2 separate regions of the Homo sapiens genome follow, and region 1 is linked to region 2. Evidence: promoter capture Hi-C in 16 types of primary human blood cells and fetal thymus (Javierre and others, 2016). All regions are on one chromosome and are shown on one strand. Each heading gives the region's core, a stretch centred on a gene start or on the middle of the fragment in contact. The rest is flanking DNA. Distances are from core to core; before and after follow the strand shown. Region 1 overlaps KLF12 (KLF transcription factor 12). Region 2 holds the start of KLF12 (KLF transcription factor 12).

Region 1 (5,516 bases), core at 1,400-3,899, 300 kb after region 2:
TTGACACTAGTAAATGCTCAATAAATATTTACTGAAGAGATGGATGAAGAAATGAATGCATTAATGTGGGAAACACTGCAGGAACAGTGTTTTGTGTGAGATGCTTAGGAATGCTGTGTGGCCAGTGTAGACGTGCAGTCTGAACCCTGACAGTAGAATAAACCTTCCCATGGTGAAATAGGAGGCTGCCAAAACATAACATGTAACCAGCAAGCCTCCGCACGTCCTCACATCTACCTCACATACTACCCCTCCCTCTCAGTCTGTTGCCATTCCACCAAATACATCTCACGTCCCAGCCATGTTGCGTGGCCCTTCAGGTGACATTCTACCTTTATCCATGTAGAAAGCAAAGGGAAGCCTTTTCTTTCTCTGACAAAAGATCTGGCTCAAATGCCTTCTTTTCTGAAACAGTACATACCAAATTGTAAGGCAATTCATATACCACCACCACCCCCACAAACACACACACATCATCTTTTCTCATTGCCTTACTGCCTTATCCAACATCTGGCACACAATAAACACTCTTAAGTGCAGAATGAGTGAATACCATCCCCCAAGCTGTTGCTGTGGTATGTCAATCTGTAGTCGCCTGGTGTTCTTGAATACATTGTTTCTGCTGTTTCCCTAGTTGTTTTATTTTGTAGCACTTAATATTAGAGAATAATGTTTGGTGGTACCTTATAGATACTTGATGTGATTTAGGTTTTAGTAGTTTCTGGAGATGAACTCCTGTGGGTAAGAAATATTCTTTGGGCTTCCAAACAGTCTTAATACGTAGATATTGCTGTATGAAAATTGTAGTCAGTTCTTATTTATTCTTTTACTCTCAGGTAAAATATTTTACCTGTGAAACTAGGATAACTAATAGCTTTGATTGGATCCAGGCAATTAATAGAATCTGCTAAGTTTCTTATATAATAGTAACGCCAATTTCATTTCCCACTCAGGGCGAAACAAATTATGCCTCCTACCCCACTGCAGTTAACTGCATCAGCATCATGATGCCATAAAATCTGAAAACTGTGGAGTATGAGTAATCCCACTATAAATTGTAATAAAAATTACCTCTCCAGACTCTATATTCTCTCCATTAAGTTCATAGGCAGTGTCTCTTTGTACATAAAGTTTTATGAAATAAATCGACCATTTTTCCTGTCCTTAGCAGATAGCAAGCTGTTTTGATTTAAAAGCTGATAATGGTACAATCAGTTTTTGGTGTTTGTAGAGCATTTTAAAAGCATAAATTTCCTTTAACAAACCTTAAGTAGAAGGGAAATGCTACTTTGCTACTTTTATTTGTACCACAGAGTTAAATATCTCTCTGTGAGAAAGAATAAATGATGTATTTAGCATGGTGGGCCCATTTGTTGCATCCATAAAACAAAGATTTGGTTTTCCTCCTCAGTTCTCTGATCTTAAAAACGTATTAAGTAAACCGCAGCACGAATCTAAAATAGCTTTGTCTGAATTGTTTCCAGTGTTCTGTGTTTAGAAGGCATTTTCAATTTCTTGATTGCTTTTTTGTCTCTTCTGTGCTAAATCCAAGGGCTCCCCCTAATCATCTCCGGTGTGGCCTTTGTCAGACGTGAATGCTGTGAATCAGTCCTCTGTAAACACAGAGACCTTTTAAACAGAGGAAACCTTCTAGAGGCCTAGGTTGTAAATCTCCAGAGAACATGAACTAGACTCTGGAGGAAGTCTTACATTATAAGAAGGGGAGAGTAGGTGGCATTTGAGGCGAAAGTTGGAGAAGCGTAAAGCTTTGGTACTCAAAGTAGGTAGGAGTGTTTCAGACCAGGAAAAGAGTAAATAATGAGAGTAGAGAATGGAGGGCACACAAAGAATGAGGAATACTGTGCTTGTACTGGAAAGTAGCCCATGAGGTCACCTCCCACACAGACACTGCATATGATACAAAATATGTTGTCTACATTACATGTACTCTATGTTACTTATAGGAAAGGACTCAAGATCCTCCGTCTTTCAAAGCATTTTAACTCTTGGCTTGGATATATTTGTTATGTTCTTTGTGAATATAATTTTCTAACCACGTAAGTAGAGAATAGCAAATAAAAATGCAAAGAAAAATAAGTGATAGGAATATTTCTCAATCGTTATTTTTATAACTTGGGTTCCCCAAAATGTCTTCTCAGTAGATTTTTATGGATGCCCAATAGTCACAAAATTTTGTAGCACTTCTCTTTCTGTAGATTTTGTTACTGAAAGAAAATAGATCTACTGATTTTGCTTTACCAGTTTATAGATGCTGAATACCTCCTGAGATTCTCATCTGCCAATTCCCTTCCCAAATTAGGAAACTCCCTTTATCTGTAGGGGCACTGAGGGTAAAAAAGTGGCAGCCAGCAAAGAAAACGTCAAAATTATTATTAAAACAAGAACTTGAATAATTGCAGCAAGGTCTTTCTGGATGGGAGCAAACAGGCTAACACGGCGCTTTAGTCCTTGGAGAGAATACTTTATTACAGCGTAATAATTGCTTTTGAAATAATGACCATTAGTAATGAAAGAAAGGTTAAATTATCATCAGTCCATTTGAAAAAGGTAGCAAAGTATGTAATAAATCTTGTAAATATATTTATTAAAAATCATTTAAATAATATTAAATAACCTTTATAGAGTGCTTATATGTTCTTTCTGCTTTACATATGTTATCTTTAAGCCTGACAATAACCAACATGTAGATATTATTGTCAGTGTTTTGCAATGAGAAAACTAAGACTCATATCACTTTCTGTACCACTTATAAGGGCACAGCTTAAGAGTGGTAGAGCCTTGAATTAAGTCAGAATTTCTAAATACTCCATAGCCATTTTGCTGTACTTAGGCTTGATGCTTTAAAAAGTATGCCTTAATTATCTAGAGAATGTGTCAGTTTTAAATATCCAATTCCATAATTCCTCAAATTAGGTGGCATTATGTTTTTAAATCATTCAGTTTTTTGACAAGGATTAAAATTTATTATATATGAAATCTATTCTGTATGTAAAATAAGTATGCGTGTGTGTGTGTGTGTGTGTGTGTGTGTGTGTGTATGAATTGCGTGAGGTAATTCCATGTTGCTAAATATTGATATTATAGTACTGTATCATGTATTTTCATTTCTTTAGCATCCTGCAGCCTGAAAAACAACAGCCTTAAGCTGTAGGTTAACATTTCTAGGTGCAGGGAAATTTAGTCAAAGTGTGGTTCACTGCGTTTCAGAGATCGACATCCATGTCATTTTTAGACATATCTGGCCCCTGCCTAGAGCTCTTTTGAGCAGGGAATTGGTTAGAAAGACATATACAACACAGACACGCCTGTTCTATCTTGCCTCGTTGTGGTAGTAGTAATTTTCTGGAAGACACAAGGGGAAACTACAAAAATAAAGACACGGCCAACATTTATTATTACTGTTATAATTATATTTATTTTTCTTAGATTAATGAGTTCAATAAAATTCTGAGCACTAGCCAATAGCTAATAATCATTATAACATTACAGTTTTAGAATTATCCAAGCTTATATAGCAGATGTTCAGAAATGCCTTCTTCAAAATTGGAAAATGAATTCAATAAAGTGTGTGTTTGGTTATGGAGAATAGCTTCATAGTAAAATCTGGCATTTTCCAGTTTTTGTTTCAGTGTCTTTTCAGAGCCATATAGTATCTTTTCTGTTTTTGTAGTTCTCTATTATTTATTAAGTTTATCAAAGAGTGAAAGATCTTGCCTGCTGTCCAAAATGTGTTGGTATCATGATATGTCATAGGAAGTATTTTCTGTCACGTTCTGGAAGTTATGGTTATAGTAGATCATTACCCATTTATCATCTAACAAATGAGTGCTCACTGGTGATGCACTGCTTAGTGGCATTATTGTGCCCATTGGTATAATCTACAGTAATCAAGATAGTATAACCTCCAATTATGTGTTTTATTATCTCATTATCCACCTTGCAACTAATGCAACTATTAACAAGCACATTTCTTGCCTGTCTTGGCCAATTGTGATTACTTTAATAGTCACCATGATAAGTCCTTCATACTTAAACCTCCTTTCAATCATAATTTACACTAGTTTTAACTATATAATTTTGTGTGATCTGATATAAACAGAGGATTACAGTTTTGTCCATTTACAAGTCTAAATAAGCCACTGAATGGTTTATAACTATTTTTCAGTATTGTGTTCTATATTTATAATTATGAAGAACGTTGAGAATGCAATCATCCTTAATAGCAAGAGTAAGCCACCACAGACTTTTTTAGCATTATTTATTCATTCCATACCTTATTCCAGAAAAGATACTGGGGAGCTCAGCCATATTATTACTATTCAGTCAGTTGTTATTGTTCAGGCAGTCAGAATTTGCAGAGGCCTTGCATATTTGTAAGTTTCAGAATGCAGTGTCCATCTGATACCCGGGCATATTAGAATATGCTCAGAGAAGAACTTGGTACTAGACCTTATTTATGCATCTATGTATAAATGTAAATGCACATATACAGAGACAGATATATGTGGACATGTATATATTTTTATTAAAAAATGATACCACCTAGAACTTTATAAACCAAATGAAACTAGTTGACTTGTTATAAAACTCTTGAATTTTATCCTCTATCTTGTAACATCTGAGAAAAATATCCTTATTATTTAAACAGATATGTTGATTACAGTACTGATTTATTTTGTTTGTTGCTCTCTGACTCATCTGTCAAAACTAAATAAAATTTGGCCTGCCAGATTCAAAAATTAAGATTTCTTTTTTAAATTTTAATCTCCAATTTTTCAGCCTTTTGCTTTACCCGGGAATTGTGCAGTGTATTTCTTTCTATTCACTTATTCATGTGATTAATACACATTCATGATTTAACCACATGCACAACGTACAGTACCCACAATACACTCACAGTCAAATGGATAAAGCAGACAAAAAAGCCACAGTGAGACAAGCTCTGTAATCCAGTGAACCCAGGCTCACAGAGGTGGATTGCAAAGGAAGAGGGGCAGTATACTCGGTGGTGGTGTTGGGTGGCGGTGAGGTGTGGCTATCACTTCAGGAGAAGGCTGTTTCTCAGAAGAAAGTATTAGTTACATTCTCTGTGTAACAATGGAGGAAAGGAAGGGCAGTTTTTAAAAAATGCACTCTTGGAAATACAAAAGGGCATACTGTATCCTGGTAGATAGATTCGACAAGTAGATAAGTTGGTATTGTTCAAATGAAAAGTACTTAAAAGAAGCGGAAATGAAGCTTAAGGGCAGTATTCATGTATGTAGTTATCACAGACCTTCTGTGCCAAGCTAACGATTTATTTACTGAACTCTACAGGGAAGCATAGGAAACTTGGAAGTAGATGGGATTTAACATGGTAACATTAAAGTTTTGGGCATGAAGGGTTGAATGTATTGAAAATACAGGGAGGGAGACTATTTCAGGAAGCCACGTGAGAATTCCTGAGAGCCTGAGCAGGGTGGTGTGAATGGAAATGTGATAGAATTTGTTGGCCA
Region 2 (5,452 bases), core at 1,030-3,529:
CATCACTCTCCTAACAAGCCCGTGGCTTATGCCATAGGAAGGCAGTGCAGTTTGCTTTTCCACGTGCAGAAGCACTCGCTATAGAATATATTTATGGTCTATCCGCCACTCAGCTCACTCGAGAAAGAGCTGTTAGTACAAGAACTGCCACGATGACATAATTTCTTACAGCATCCTTCCACCCTTACAGTGAAACTCCCTTCCTTCACTCCCTGCCCCACCTAGAGGGAAACTTCACAGTGATTCTAGTAGAGGCAAGTTTCTCGTTGAAATCCTGCGCAGTTGTTGATATTCTGCTGCTTTTCAAACTTGTGTTTTCACGTCGTTTCCATCCGGGTGTAGTGGAGTGTAAGGGGCTGTTTACCCTAGGCCCAGGATCGGATCAGGGAGTGGGAGTTGCGGCTGCATTCCCCGGAACAGAGACCGCACCGCAGCAACCACCAACCCCTCACCCCCGAGTCCCACTGGGTTCCCGACGCCCTCGCTGCGCCCGCGCCTTCCCGCTCCCGCCGCTGAGGCTACTTCACTCGAGCAGTGCTCCACAAATTTCAGACATTTCTTCCTCTTCGAAACCTCAAGACCAGGACAGACCCCTCCTCTGAATCCTGCTGCCTTCCTAAGACGCATCTTAGGCTGTGGGACCCCTCCTCTAGGTTGGACCACCCATCCCATTTTCCCCAGAACCTAGGAGTGGCAAGAGGCAGAGAACGCACCAGGCAGACGCCGCCTTTGTTGTCATTAGGAACGCACACCGCGCCTGAAGTGGCTGGAAACCGCCACACCGATGGGGAGCCCAGCTGGCCCTGGCTCACATTCGTGCCTTCGTTCTCATTTCCTGTTTCTCGGCCTCTCCCTTGTTTCTCTTCCCACCCCACTCCACGCCACAGTACAGCAAAGCTTTCTCTCTGCACACAAACTTCCCCTTCCCGGCCTTCCCACAGCCCTGGCGATTTCCCACGCGGGGCGGGCCGGGCCGGGGGCGCGGGGCAGGGGAATACTGTCGTGCCCGGAGCGCCGCGCTCACCTAGGATGGTGAGGAGGCGGGCCCACAGCCTCCCGCCTCCGTCCGCCGCGCGCCCCGCCCGCCCGGCCGCTTCCGCCCCGTCTGCTCCCCGCCCCCGCCGACCCTCCGGCTCGGCGCTGACCCCGCGCCCTCCGAGCCGCCGCGGGAACTGCAGGGCCGCCCGGCCGCCTCCTCCCTCTCCCGCCCCACAATCCCGCGGATCCGCTCCCCGGGGCGCGGAGGCGGGGAGGGAGGGGCTGCCGGGGAGAGCGTCAAGGACTCGGCTCCGGGCCGTCCGCTTCTTGGGGCTCCGCTCTGGGCGTGGGGCAGTGGAGCTGGACTCCCTTCCCCGCCGCCCCCGGGCCCCGCGGGGGTCTGCAGATCCCGCTTCCTCTGCCCCAGTCCTCCAAGTTTGCGTGCTTTCCCACAGAACTGGCGCAGGCAGGGGCCCCTTCGCTGGGGTGGCGAGGCCAGGCGCGCATCTCCGCCTCGCCCCCATTCATCCCGCCAAGGTGAAGCGCAGGGAAAAGGGGCGCCCCCGCTTCGCCCGCAACGTGCGTCGCTCCGGAACCCAAACAATGACTCCCCTGCCTGCCGCGCCCGGCCCTCCGCCCGCCCCACCGGCGCGCGGGGGGCACCGCCCGCGGGGCTGCCCCTGCCTGACCCCATTGTTGCCCGGCGCGGGCGATGCCCGGCGCCCAGGGGCGGTCCCCGCGAGCTGCCCCACAGTCCCGGCCGGCTCCGCCCACACCTTTCCAAGTTCGCTGGCGGGCGAGCCGCGGGGACGACCCGGGCGACAGCCCCCTCCCTCCACTGCGCGCCCCCACCCGGGCGGGTGCGGCGAGGGGTGGGGGCCCAAGCGGGCTGCACGCTTTTTGGGTCCCCGAATTCTCCTAAGCCTGTCTGGCGCGCTCTGACACAAAAGAGGAGACTTTCTCGCGGCTCGGCGCGAGTCCTTGCCCAGCGAGTTGCTCTCCAGGGGTCCCTCCCGCCGCAAGCCCCCGCGGGCCCCCTCGGCCGACGACTCCCCGAGCTCCCAGGGCCATGTGTGGGTTATTTGGGGTGCCGCAGCAAAGTGGTGCAGGTGAAAGGGAAGCGCTGCCGAGGCCCGGGGCCGGAGGGCGGGGGCAGGGGTGGGGCGGGGTGGGGCGGGGTGGAGGCGCCGCGGACCCAGCCCGGCGGTCCGGGCGGGGAGGCGAGGGCCGGGCAGTGGGTGTTGCCTTCTACCTCTGCGAGCGGGGAGGGGTTAGTTTCCCACAGGGGATTTCAACCATCACACTCAGAGCCCGCCTCCTAATCCTCGGGCGGAGCGGCTCGGGGGCCCCATTTTATGGCAATAAAGCGACTTAGCGCCTGCTGAGCGAGCCCCTCCCCGCCGCCGCCCCCGCCCTCGGCCCCACCCCGGGGCTCGCCGGCAGCGGCGGGGCTTTGTTTCTGGGGAGGAGGACCCGGAGCTCTTTTGTTTGGGGGTTTCTTGTTTTCGGCCCCCCCCCTCACAGCACCCCACCCCACCCCACCCCAAGCGCCTCTCCGGTTTCCTGAGCTGCGGGCTGCGAGGGAGGAGAAGCGGCGTCCTGCAACCCCCTCGGCTGGGCCCCGGGGTAATTCGATGCGGGCCTGGCGAGGCTCCCCACACTAGACCGGGGCTCGCAACTCGGCAGCCTCCACCCACCGGCCCACCCTACATTTAGCGCATCATGTGATCCGGGTAAGTCATTTGCAAGTACAACAGTTCCCCGGGTTGCCCCCCATTCATTTCCTGAGAACTGCAGAGAGCCGCTGAGAGGCTCTGCGTGTGCGTGTGCGCGGGTGACGCCGTGTGTGTGCGAGTGTGTGTGTGTGTGTGCGCGCGCGCGTGTGAGAGAGAGAAAGGGAGAGAGAGAGGGGGACTCTGTGTGAGGGAAAGAAAACAATTTCTCCTGCTCTGCAGCTTCTGTTCAGGTCTGTGCCGATTCCGTTTCTTATCAAAATAAACAACCCCCTCCTCTTTTTTTTTTTTTTTTGCCATCCCAAATCAGACCGTATTCTCTTAACGTGTTTTATTTTCCTTCTGTCATCTGCTCAAGTTAAATCATTTTGGTTGGTCTGTGTTCTTAAAGGGGGAAAGTGCTGGGAAGCGGGAGGGGGCCGGGGAAGGGCGATGCTGTTGCAAAGCAAGTAGCGTCGGTCGGATTCGTGGAGAAGAAAGAAGGAGGTTTCTTCCCCACCTCCCCTAATTTTTTTTTTCCAGAAGAAGTTATCAAGTAACGTGAATTAAGCAAGTGTTTTTCTACCCCTAGTGGAATTGTTGGTTGCAGTGTTTGCCTGACAGTTGCCAAGGATGTGAAATAAAACCCCAGGGCTGAACTTGGGGGGGAGGGGGGGCTCGTGGAAGTAGTTGGCCCCCCGGCCTCGAGCGGGGTGGATGAATAGCTCCGCACCGGGACCGTGTGGGCTGTGTGTGCGCGCTGGAGAGAGTGGAGGGGAAGGGGTTAAGGCGGAGATGACACTGCTGGCATGAATAGTGCTCCTGGTGCTACATTCATTATTGTCTCTGGTCGTAATGATGTGTAACTGTCACTTGCTACAGTGCCTGGTCCATGCAAGTAGCCAGGGGCTGGCCGGTGGCTGTTATTTTCAATTACGGGGGACCTGGCCGGAGTTGACAAGGGGCAACTTTGTACGTCCACCCGGGCCGGGAACCCGCAGAGCCGGCCTGGGAGCCACTTCTTGCCTCAGAAGCTCACTCTGAGGGTTCAGACTTGACCTCCGCGACATTAGTTGGTGTTCACGTTAGATGCTCCCCTACGGGGAGAATCAGTCCTGCTTTTGTTGGGTAGCGAGCTGTCTGCAAGAACTTTGAAAACTTTTATCTTTGGGGAAAAGGGTGGGGTGCACTCAACAGTTTTGTTTCGCAGTGCATTTGAGGCAAATGCTTGGAAAAAGTACCAATTCCTTTGTTATATGCCCTGCAGCTTCCCAACCCCCTTCACCCTGCGCTTCGAGTTTTGCATACTTTAATAGTAATAGTCTTATTTCAGCTGATAAAAGCTGACTGTGTTGAGTTAAAGAGTATTAATACAACGGAATGTGTAATCTGGATAAACAGTTTGCGTAGTTAGTATTGTCAGCACTCTAATTTAACTGTATAGATGGCTAAAGTGTCGTTCTGTATGGATTGTTTTAGATAATTCCACTGGCTAATGGAATTCTCGGCGAGCACTCTGATATTTTATTTTACACCAGCGTTAAGATTCTCTGTTTCCCTGTAACATCGGAGAGACGAGCAACTCTATTTACATTTAGTGCGTGTGCATCTAGTGACTTCGGTAGACATCTGCCAATCAAATACACGTCATTCTGCAAAACCACCTAGACGCCTCCATGCCCTTTTCTTACTGGACGATAGAGTTGTTTAGATAAGTAAATGCTTTGAAATAAATTTGGTGGCTTTTAGCAAGAAGCAGCTTGTGATGGGAATAGGAGTGGTCACTTTGAGGAGTGGGTGTATACCGTCTTCTAAGAAACGCTTTTAGAACTGACATTTATTTAAAACAGTGGACCCCCCCTCCCTCAAGGAAAAAAGCTTGCTTGTGCTATTCTCAGACCTCATTCACATGTTGTGTGCATTTTTTAAGACCACATAGAAATTGGTTCCGATAAAGGAGTATACTTTTAGGTTAGAAAATTTCAAACTGTAGAAGCATAGTGGAAATAGGATGTTGAAGGACAGACGTTTCAGTTGGGTAAGTTATATCTTTATTGTTGCAGACGGGTCTTGATACTAGATTGAATATATTAAGCTCCTTTGAGTTGGGGAAAGAGCAATTTGAGCATATAAAAATTAGGAAAGCAGTTTATTATTCTGCCAATTTAATAACTATTATGAAATGTACTGGGAAAATTTGAAATTTGAAATGTTTTCACATAAAATTTTCATAATTTTGAACTAAGACCATGTAACCAACATGGCTATGTCAGGTTAAACAAAACATTCTTGAGGGTTTCTGTTTATTTTTGAAAACCTTCAGTTATTTATCTACTACTTAGCAATGCAGTCAGCTGAACTTTATTGTGGAATGCTTTTTATTACTGTTTATTGAAAAAAATTGTTGTGCTAATGAGTCCTTAATATTCTCCACCTCCCACTCCCCAGAAGTTCTTTTTACAGCAATGACTATCATTTGGGAGTAAATGGTCCTGGTATAGCATTTGAGACCTTGACCTTAGCAACTCTTGGCTGGTGGTTGTTTACTACAGCTGCAGCCTATGTGTGTGCTGAAAGGGAAGGTCTGCAAACACTAGTGTACTCACTCTCCCCAGGCCAAAGGGAGAACAAATCGGGATGCTTGACGTTCATTCTGAAGAACATGCATCTGGCCTGTAATATCCATCGTGTTCTGGTCATGTGAAAATATACATGTTGCTCAGGGATATTTTCCCTGACTCCTGTTCAGGGAAAGTATGCAC

Evidence for each region. Contacts are between HindIII fragments. The CHiCAGO score rates a contact against its expected background, and 5 or more counts as called.
Region 1: a fragment that was not itself captured here is called in contact with the fragment with the promoter of KLF12 in region 2 in 6 of 17 cell types (non-activated CD4 T cells, fetal thymus, activated CD4 T cells and 3 more); the score reaches 8.1 in non-activated CD4 T cells.

The regions. Positions count from the first base shown.
Region 1 is chr13:73,828,534-73,834,049 of GRCh38, reverse strand. The region is part of intron 4 of KLF12 (KLF transcription factor 12); the gene reads left to right. Among named protein-coding and RNA genes, the nearest start is that of LINC00393, 170 kb to the right of the region's middle. The HindIII fragment of the contact is 1,761 bases long and covers 1,769-3,529 here.
Region 2 is chr13:74,131,231-74,136,682 of GRCh38, reverse strand. KLF12 (KLF transcription factor 12) reads left to right here and starts at 2,279. Exons shown (of 8, transcript NM_001400136.1): 1 at 2,279-2,711. RefSeq lists a silencer at 783-2,532 and enhancers at 3,542-3,591, 3,622-3,801. The HindIII fragment of the contact is 3,671 bases long and covers 900-4,570 here.